2 separate regions of the Homo sapiens genome follow, and region 1 is linked to region 2. The links are contacts of gene promoters, found by promoter capture Hi-C in blood cells and fetal thymus (Javierre and others, 2016). All regions are on one chromosome and are shown on one strand. Each heading gives the region's core, a stretch centred on a gene start or on the middle of the fragment in contact. The rest is flanking DNA. Distances are from core to core; before and after follow the strand shown.

The links. Contacts are between HindIII fragments. The CHiCAGO score rates a contact against its expected background, and 5 or more counts as called.
Region 1: a contact is called between a fragment that was not itself captured here and the fragment with the promoter of H4C8 in region 2, in 1 of 17 cell types (megakaryocytes). The highest score is 5.0, in megakaryocytes.

What each region holds. Positions count from the first base shown.
Region 1 is chr6:26,494,133-26,498,578 of GRCh38, reverse strand. All of the region lies in intron 1 of LOC107986583 (a long non-coding RNA gene), which reads left to right. Among named protein-coding and RNA genes, the nearest start is that of BTN1A1, 3.9 kb to the left of the region's middle. The HindIII fragment of the contact is 2,095 bases long and covers 971-3,065 here.
Region 2 is chr6:26,283,390-26,287,525 of GRCh38, reverse strand. H4C8 (H4 clustered histone 8) reads left to right here and starts at 1,992. Exons shown (of 1, transcript NM_003543.4): 1 at 1,992-2,400. The coding sequence starts at 2,027. The coding sequence ends at 2,338. It overlaps TRX-CAT1-2 (tRNA-iMet (anticodon CAT) 1-2), which reads right to left and starts at 1,000; the gene lies at 929-1,000. LOC124901287 (a long non-coding RNA gene) reads right to left here and starts at 1,846. Exons shown (of 2, transcript XR_007059520.1): 1 at 1,473-1,846. RefSeq lists a silencer at 1,212-1,261 and enhancers at 1,602-1,991, 2,142-2,301, 1,680-2,415, 1,508-2,707, 2,416-3,151. The HindIII fragment of the contact is 3,784 bases long and covers 1-2,694 here.

The DNA.
Region 1 (4,446 bases), core at 769-3,268, 210 kb before region 2:
GGAATTGTGATTAAGACAAAAGACAGTTGCTCCATTTCACCCACCAGACTGCCAAGAGAATGATCTTTCCCAAATGCAAATCTGATCATATCACTTTTTGCTTAAAAATCCTTCCACATCTCCCTAGTGACTTCAGCATCAAGTTTATGCACCTTAATCTGGTTAGGAAAATACTGTAGGTCTAGCTTGATCTGGTCAAGAAAATACTCTGGCAGTCTCCTTGCTTCTTTCCTGAGGGCTTTTTCTCCATTCCCCTTCTCCTTCCCTGCTTGTCCACCCACAGGCTGAATTTGGAGTGGGTGTGGTTACCTCAACCCACAATGCCTCTCAGGCCTCCAGATAGCAGTGCTTGCCTTCCCCCTTCCAGAATATTCTGTCTCTTCTTAACTTTTTTTTTTTTTTTTTTTTGAGATGGAGTCTCACTTTGTCACCCAGGCTGGAGGGCAGTGGCACAATTTCAGCTCACTGCAACCTCTGACTCCCAGGTTCAAGCATTTCTCCTGCCTTAGCCTCCCAAGTAGCTGGGACTACAGGCGTGCCCCACCACGCCTGGCTTTGTTGGTATTTTTGGTAGAGGTGGGGTTTCCCAATGTTGGCCAGGCTGGTTTTGAACTCCTGACCTCAAGTGATACACCCGCCTCGGTCTCCCAAAGTGCTGGGATTATAGGTGTGAGCCACCGCGACTAGCCTGTTCCCTCTTATCTTTATGATGAACTCCTATTCTTCCCTCAAAAGCTCATGTAAGGGCTGCACCTTCTGCAATGTCTTTCAGACATTGCATCAAGCAGATGCAACCTCACTTCTAGGGCTTCTCCTGATTAGCCTTTGTCCCCTCCAAGAGAAGTAGGCTTTCCTGGAAGATGGGCCAGGTGTATCCTGTGACACTTGGTCCCTTTCTCATGGCAGACACCTGATCTGAGCCCTAGTTTCAGAAGCAGATGTGTTTATTGTCATCTTTTGTTTCCAAGCTTGTCTTCCCCTCTTAAACTGAGCTTTCCTAGTTCTTACTCCCTGTCTTCTCATCAGCACATAGACTGAAATAGAATTTGTGGCTTCATTCAAACCCATCGTTCCTTAGCCTTCCTAGTTTGAAAGGCTCCTGTCCCATTTTCCTCTTCATGCTTAACTTTCTGATCATATCACCTATAATCTATTTCCCCTTCCTCATTTCACTTCTCTTATCAGCCCCTTTCAATGATACTTTTGTCTCATGCTTCATATTCTCATAAGACATTGTTTTCAGGGGGGAAAAAGAGCTTTTACTTGCAACTAACGGAGCCATACTGAAAAGAAAGGGTCTGGGGGAAAGAAGAAGAAAGTACTTGGAGCTCAAGCTATTGCATAACAGACACTATTTTGATTGGATAGCATCTGGGTCTTTTTGACAGAAACCAAGTCATCAGTCTTACACAATGAAAGACAGGATCTCTAAATTTCCCAAGGTTTAGAGAACAGAACCTCTAGGATGCCCCTAGGATGCCCCTGCCTGTCATGGTTCCTGAATGGGAGAGGCCTTGTGAAGTGGTGCTGCTCTTAGGAAGTTCCTGCTCTTCCCAGGCCCACTGCGAGATAGAAACAAAAACTTCTTCTTCTTAGACATGAAATCATTTGGGCTGAGGAATATGATATGCTTCATATGGAACCTAATGATAAAATGTCAGCATTTGTTTCCCCTCCCTGCTTTTCACTATAATCTGTTCAAATTTCTCAGTGTTATCCTCATGTCAAATTCAATGGTTACTCTCGTTCTCATCTTACTTGACTTTCATCACTGAGGCAACCATTTGAGTCTATTTATTTATTTTGAGACGGAGTCTTACTCTGTCGCCCAGGCTGGAGTGCAGTGGCACAATCTCGGCTTACTACAACCTCCTGGGTTAAAGCGATTCTCGTGCCTCAGCCTCCCAAGTAGCTGGGATTATAGACATGCACCACCATGCCTGGCTAATTTTTGTACTTTTAGTAGAGATGGGGTTTCACCGTGTTGGCCAGGCTGGTCTTGAATTCCTGACCTCAAGTGATCTGGCTGCCTTGACCTCCCAAACTGCTGGGAATACAGGTGTGAGCCACCACGCCCAGTCAACGTCTTTTCTTTTTAAATGTGGTTCAGTTGTTTTATGTGGTACTTATCTACATATTTCTCAAGACAATATCATTCTGTCAAAGTTTTTAAAAAAGCTCTTTATATGTATTACATGTATTTAAAAAAAAAACCAAATGGGACAAAGTGCTTTTAAGAAATGTCAGTTCCACTTCCCACTTCCAACCTATTACTCCTGAATCCCCAGAAACAGCTTCTTTAAGTGCTCAGTTGTTTTATCTGGTACTTATCTGCATATTTCTAGAGACAATACCATATTTATGCTGCTATTTCTCTATATATCCATTTCTAGATATTACTTTTCTATACCCTATTATGATCAATTATGATTTAGCTCTCTTATACCACCAGTAGTAATACATCACAAATTCTGTTCCATATTTCCAATACTGTGGCTATGTAACTATAGTTTTACGGGACCAAGTATCATATATGATTACATTTATTTTCATGTACAACCTCTTGTTTTTTTAGGAGTAGGGAGGGGGTGAAATGATTCATTTTTGTTCCTTTGTTTAGTTTTCTTTATTCCCCTCACAGGTTTTTCCCACTCCTCTAATTGACTCTAAGCACAGTTTCCATAGTCAAGCATATCAGGTAATTTATCAATCCCCTCTCTTCATTCTTCCCAGAGCAGCACTTGGGTCTTACTGAAAAAGAGATTCTGATTTAGTAGGTCTGGAATAGGACCAGGATTCTCACTGCTAGTTGCTCTGGTCCACAGGTCCACAGGGCAAGATCTACTGCCTACAGCTCTTTTTTTTTTTCTCTTTCTTGAGTGGGGGTGGTGTTCGGTGTAGGGTGTGGGGTTGGGGGGTGGTCTTGCTATGTTGCCCAGGCTGGACTCAAAATTCCTGGGCTCAAGGGACTTCCCACTTCAGCCTCTCCAGTAGCTAGGAATACAGGCACGTGCCACTGCACCCACCCAGCTATAGCTCTTTATCTTGCTCCTTATTCAGAAGCTTTCTGTGAAGAGGCAGCTACCAGCTTTGCATGAATTATGGAGATGCCTCTGAGGGATGGTTGTGGCTCAAGGTCTTGGGCTTGTTATACATGTGGCCATACTGAGCCAAGACAAAGGACTGGGGTGAATGGGCATCATGTACAATACTGTATTCTTCTGTGGCTTACTAGTGAGCTTTGTGGTCAGCTGCTCTTTCTTGGGGGCACACACTATTGATATGGTAGTAATAATCAGATATGACCTAATGGTGCTTCAACATTATTACAGTGACATAATTCCGCTATTTACCAAGCCCGTGTTAAAATTATACATACAGAGTTTGTATAATGTTATAATTATAATTTGTGTAATTTATGCACAACAGCTTGCATATGTGAAGGTGGAGGGGAAGTGAAGTGAAGATGGTGTGGAGATGAAGATGGTGGACTTCTGTGTGGAAGAGGGGTTAGCAGGGGTTTGCCCTGGGGAAGCAAAAGGCTGAGATCTGGTAGAGTGTGGACGTCCCTGAATTATATTCTTGGAAGTACTTTTGAAATGGAGAGTTCCTAGAACAAGAGGGGTAGACAGGGAACTTATGGGAGCCAATAAATTGAGGTTGGATTGAGTAAGAGAGAAAGAGTTCAGGGAAGGGATCAAGGTTGCGTGGACCACTGTTTGAGTTCTGCCCAGAATTTATCCCATTGCAGCCTCTGAGCTATCTTCCATATCTGTTCATCTTAGTCTTTCTTACTGTTACCTGGTGGGGTAGATCCTTCCAAAACAGGTGTACATTCTCCCGCGCGAGGACAGGCTATGATAAATGTGAAAATGCAAGACTTAGACATCTTAGGAGCAGCCTATGAATTCATTATTGTCCTGACTTCACCCTACTTTCCTTTTTTTGGTAGAGACAGGGTCTCAAATATTCTTCATTTTCATATATCGTGAGGCCTTGAGCCCTTGGGAGGAAGGAGCTCAGAATCCTGGAGAAGTGAAGACTCTCTGACCTGGACACAATTGTGCTCTTTTCCATTTTGCAGTAACGGAGGGGTTTATAAAAGGTTTGTTGTCTGTGGAACAATAGGGGTAAAAACTCAGAATTTTTCAAGCCCTTTGATGAGTGTATTTAGAAAATGAAAAAAAAAATTATCATTTGAGTTAAAGATGTCGGAAGGAAGATGGAATGTGTGCATGAAACACACAATGAAACAACTGTTCCCTTCTGTGAATACCTGATTACTGAAACATTATCAGTAAATCATGAACTTGCTTTTTGTTTCAGTTTTTGTTCTTAGAAATCTGTGGGAAGTTCCTTTTGGCTTTAGATGCTAGGAAATTTTGCTGTACCTGGGAACGAAAAGTCTTAGGGCCAAGTTTGGGGTGGGTAGAGTGGCACTGGGAG
Region 2 (4,136 bases), core at 743-3,242:
GAGGCTGAGGCAGGAGAATCTCTTGAGCCCAGGAGGTGGAGGTTGCAATGAGCCAAGATCGTGCCACTGCACTCCAGCCTGGGCAACAAGAGTGAGACTTCATCTCAAAAACAAATAAACAAACAAAAAACAAAAAACAAAAACAACAAAAGCATATCTAGACTGTAGACTACTTAAGGTTTTTTTTTTTTCTTAGTTCCTAATACAGTATGTGACACATAAATATCTGAATAGGAATCCTTTCTGAGAGAGAGAAGCATAAAGCAGTCCACACATATGTTTAAAAAATAAGCACAGCGAATAGTTCTATTTGAGATATTAAAGGATGGTAGAGAGTAGAGACACATTTACCAGTAGGGTCCGCAAAAATGTTTTTCTCAGGTCAGAGTTCAATCAGTGCTATGAAGACTCCACACCCACCTCAAAATGCAACTCATTTTCCGAGATTAAGATCCTTGTAGGTGAAAAGAATCTGTGTGGGGATTTAGGAATTCCTAGTCGATTGCCTTAACTACTTGGCAAATAGTGCTTTCTGAATTATGTATCAAAAGATATAAAACTCCATTCCTGGGCTCCCACCCCACCCCACCCTTGGCACTCAGTTTATGTAAGCATTCTCCTTGCTTGGCAGGTTAACTTACAACTGTCATAACTGGCTGCAACAGTGGTATAGCCTCTAAACAAGAGAAATTTGCTTTGTTTACAGATGACATATTGATTAATGACACTTGGGTGTCCATGAAAATCAAAATTGTACATGCAGAGATTGTAGTTTCACATTATTTCCCGGAAATGCTTGTAATTCTGGAATTAAAGAAATACTCGGGTTCATTTTGTTTTCTTTCGTCATTGTTTAACCTAAAAAACTGTAACTTAAAAAAAAGGGATCCTCAGGAAAATAGACGGGGGGGGAGAAAAAAAAAGGACCTAGCAGAGGATGGTTTCGATCCATCGACCTCTGGGTTATGGGCCCAGCACGCTTCCGCTGCGCCACTCTGCTGTTCTGCCAGGCACACGGTCTCACAGTACTCTTAACTACTTACAGGAGATGCGTTCAGACTACCTCGTAATTTAAGAAAAAACCTACGAGCAGTTGCCTACTTCTTTGGCTACCACAGGTTGCCAACTCACTTTGGAAAAAGGAATCACCAGAATCAAACAGAAAACAAAACTAGGGATAGAAAAATAAATATCAATACACTGGTGGGCTAGGCGCGGTAGCTCACGCCTGTAGTCACTGCACTTTGGAAGACCCAGGCAGGCAACATAGCGAGACCCTGTCTCAATAAAATTAAAAAAAGGAAAAAAAAAAACCCCCACCCCGAAACCTACACACTGGGTGCAGTTGTGAGGGGCAGTTAGATATTTAAATGGCAATTACAAATTTTAATAAGCAGGGAAAGAAGAGAACAAACTGGGAATAGAATCAGGCCTCCGCGCGGAGGGCAATAATTCTACCACGAATCACTAACCTATCATGCCTTCGCCATCGGGAAGAAAACCCTTTTGGTTATGTTTCCCTTGGCTTGGTGATGGAGAGGGTGAAATCTTGCAGTTTTCAAACACTTCCGAAGGGGGGTTTCGGTCCGCATGTGCTTTACAGCCGGCAGCAGAAAGCCAGTCACTGTGACCTTGGGGACAAAGCTGCACTCCTCAGGCTTCCGGTCTTGTGGACCGAGGCTCCTCTCCAATCGTCCTAAAGCAACTGAAGGAACAATTGATAACAATTTAAACATGTTAATTTATTTAATCTGATTTGGTTGTTAAAACAGCCTTAAAACTCTCATTCCTATTTCCCAGCAATTGCAAGAGACGCCTCCGCGGAGCCGGCGCTCAGATGCCAAAGGCTGGAGTCGTTGGTGACGTCATCCAGGGCTGGGCTATGCGGGGTGGGGCCAAGAAGCAGGACCAAAGTTCCGGTATGCGCGCTTTCAGTCTTCAATTAGGTCCGAATTCCCGGCATATAAGGGCGTTGCTTTGCCTTGGCGTTTAGGTTTCTTAAGTTGGTTTTAGAAGTTGCTTAGTCATGTCTGGCCGTGGTAAAGGTGGAAAAGGTTTGGGTAAGGGAGGAGCTAAGCGTCATCGCAAGGTTTTGCGCGATAACATCCAGGGCATCACTAAGCCAGCTATCCGGCGCCTTGCTCGTCGCGGCGGTGTCAAGCGAATTTCTGGCCTTATCTATGAGGAGACTCGTGGTGTTCTGAAGGTGTTCCTGGAGAACGTGATTCGTGACGCTGTCACTTACACAGAGCACGCCAAACGCAAGACCGTGACAGCAATGGATGTGGTCTACGCGCTGAAGCGACAGGGACGCACTCTTTACGGCTTCGGTGGCTAAGGCTCCTGCTTGCTGCACTCTTATTTTCATTTTCAACCAAAGGCCCTTTTCAGGGCCGCCCACTTTTTTCATAAAAGAGCAGACATCTTGTTATCCTGCTTTGTTCCAGATTTTTGCTGAGAAGTAGTTACTGTGCACATGTGTAGATTTGCAGGTAACGTTTAATTACTCGTGCTTAATCTCGCATGTTTAGGATTTGGGCATAAAGTACTTAAAGCCACTGTTTTCTGCTTGAGGGAAGTTGGTATGTTGAATATGTTTAGCTTTCTTGTGGCATTTTAACACTAGATATCAGTGAGTAAGCTGGATTGTGACAGTTTATAATTCCCGTGGGCCTTCCTCCTTCAGTTTAAGCTTGAAGCGTTCGTAAGGTTCTCAAAGACTACAGAAGTTGGAAACTTCGCGGAGAGACTGCAAGTTACCCTTTCCAAAATGGCGGGAAGGGCTAAAAACAAAGAAAGCTCGCACCCAGACGGCGGGCCTTAAACCAAGGCGAATCCGTGAGCGCAACACATCTGCGTGAGTAGGATCGCAGACCCAAGTCCAGGCGGCGTGCGCGCTGCTGCTTTTGACTTGGTGACAAAACTCGTCTACAAAAGGCAGTGTGGGGTAACAATATAAATGTTCACTTGAGAGCTTGCAAGTATTGTTTCCAATAGACTTAAAATGTGTTTTTGAATATTACGAAAATATTAAAAGGTAGGGTACCGCTTAGTGAGCAATATAGAAACATCACCATAACTTATTTTGTTGTTGTTGAGACGGAGTTTTGCTCTTTCATCCAGGCTGGAGTGCAGTGGCGCGATTTCGGCTCACCGCAACCTCCGCCTTACAGTTTCAAGCGATTCTCCTGCCTCAGCCTCCTGAATAGCTGGTATTACAGCCGCCCGCCTAATTTTTGTGTTTTTAGTAGAGATGGGGTTTCACCATGTTGGCCAGGCTGGTCTCGAACTCCTGATCTCGTGATCCACCCGCCTCGACCTCCCAAAAGTGTTGGGATTACAGGCATGAGGCACTGCGCCCGGCCACGAAAACTTAAATTCTTAACCAGCAATGATCGCCTTTTGAAAAAGTACACATTCAGGCATCAGGACAATGATTTGCTAGAGACCAAACTTGTAGGAGATTTGGATTGGCTTTTTTTTTCCTTTTTTGAGGCGGAGTCTCACCTTCGCCATGCTGGAGTGAAGTGGCGTGATCTCGGCTCACTGGAACTTCTGCCTCCCGAGTTCAAGCGATTCTACTGCCTTAGCCTCCCAAGTGACTACAGGCTCGCGCCACCACGCCCAGCTAATTTTGGTATTTTTAAGTATAGGTGGGGTTTCACCATGTTGGCCAGAATGGTCTCCATCTCTTGAGCTCGTGATCCGCCCGCCTCGGCTTCCCAAAGTGTTGGGATTACAGGCGTGAGCCACCGCGCCCGGCCTGGATTGGCTTTTCTTACGGCATCATTTTACTTGGCTTCTATACTCTGTCCTGAGCAGAAGTGACTTTTATATACTTAGTTGAAATCAGGTTAATATGCTTGTCAGTTTATACAGAGACATATGTCTGGTTTATCTACGTTGAAGATAATAGGACAATTGCTGCTTTAGGATGATAGTTCCATTGTAAAATCAGATTTTTCCTCTTTGTGGTCAGCAAGCAAATTGTAGGGTTATAACTTTGAAATCGAGAAAATCAATGGAGTTAGGGTTTCATCTTTTTTAAAGATATGCACTTGTACATTAATATGAAAAGAACGATGTTATCAGAGCTAAGGCACTGGTTTGTATGAGGATATAAATTTAACAACAAA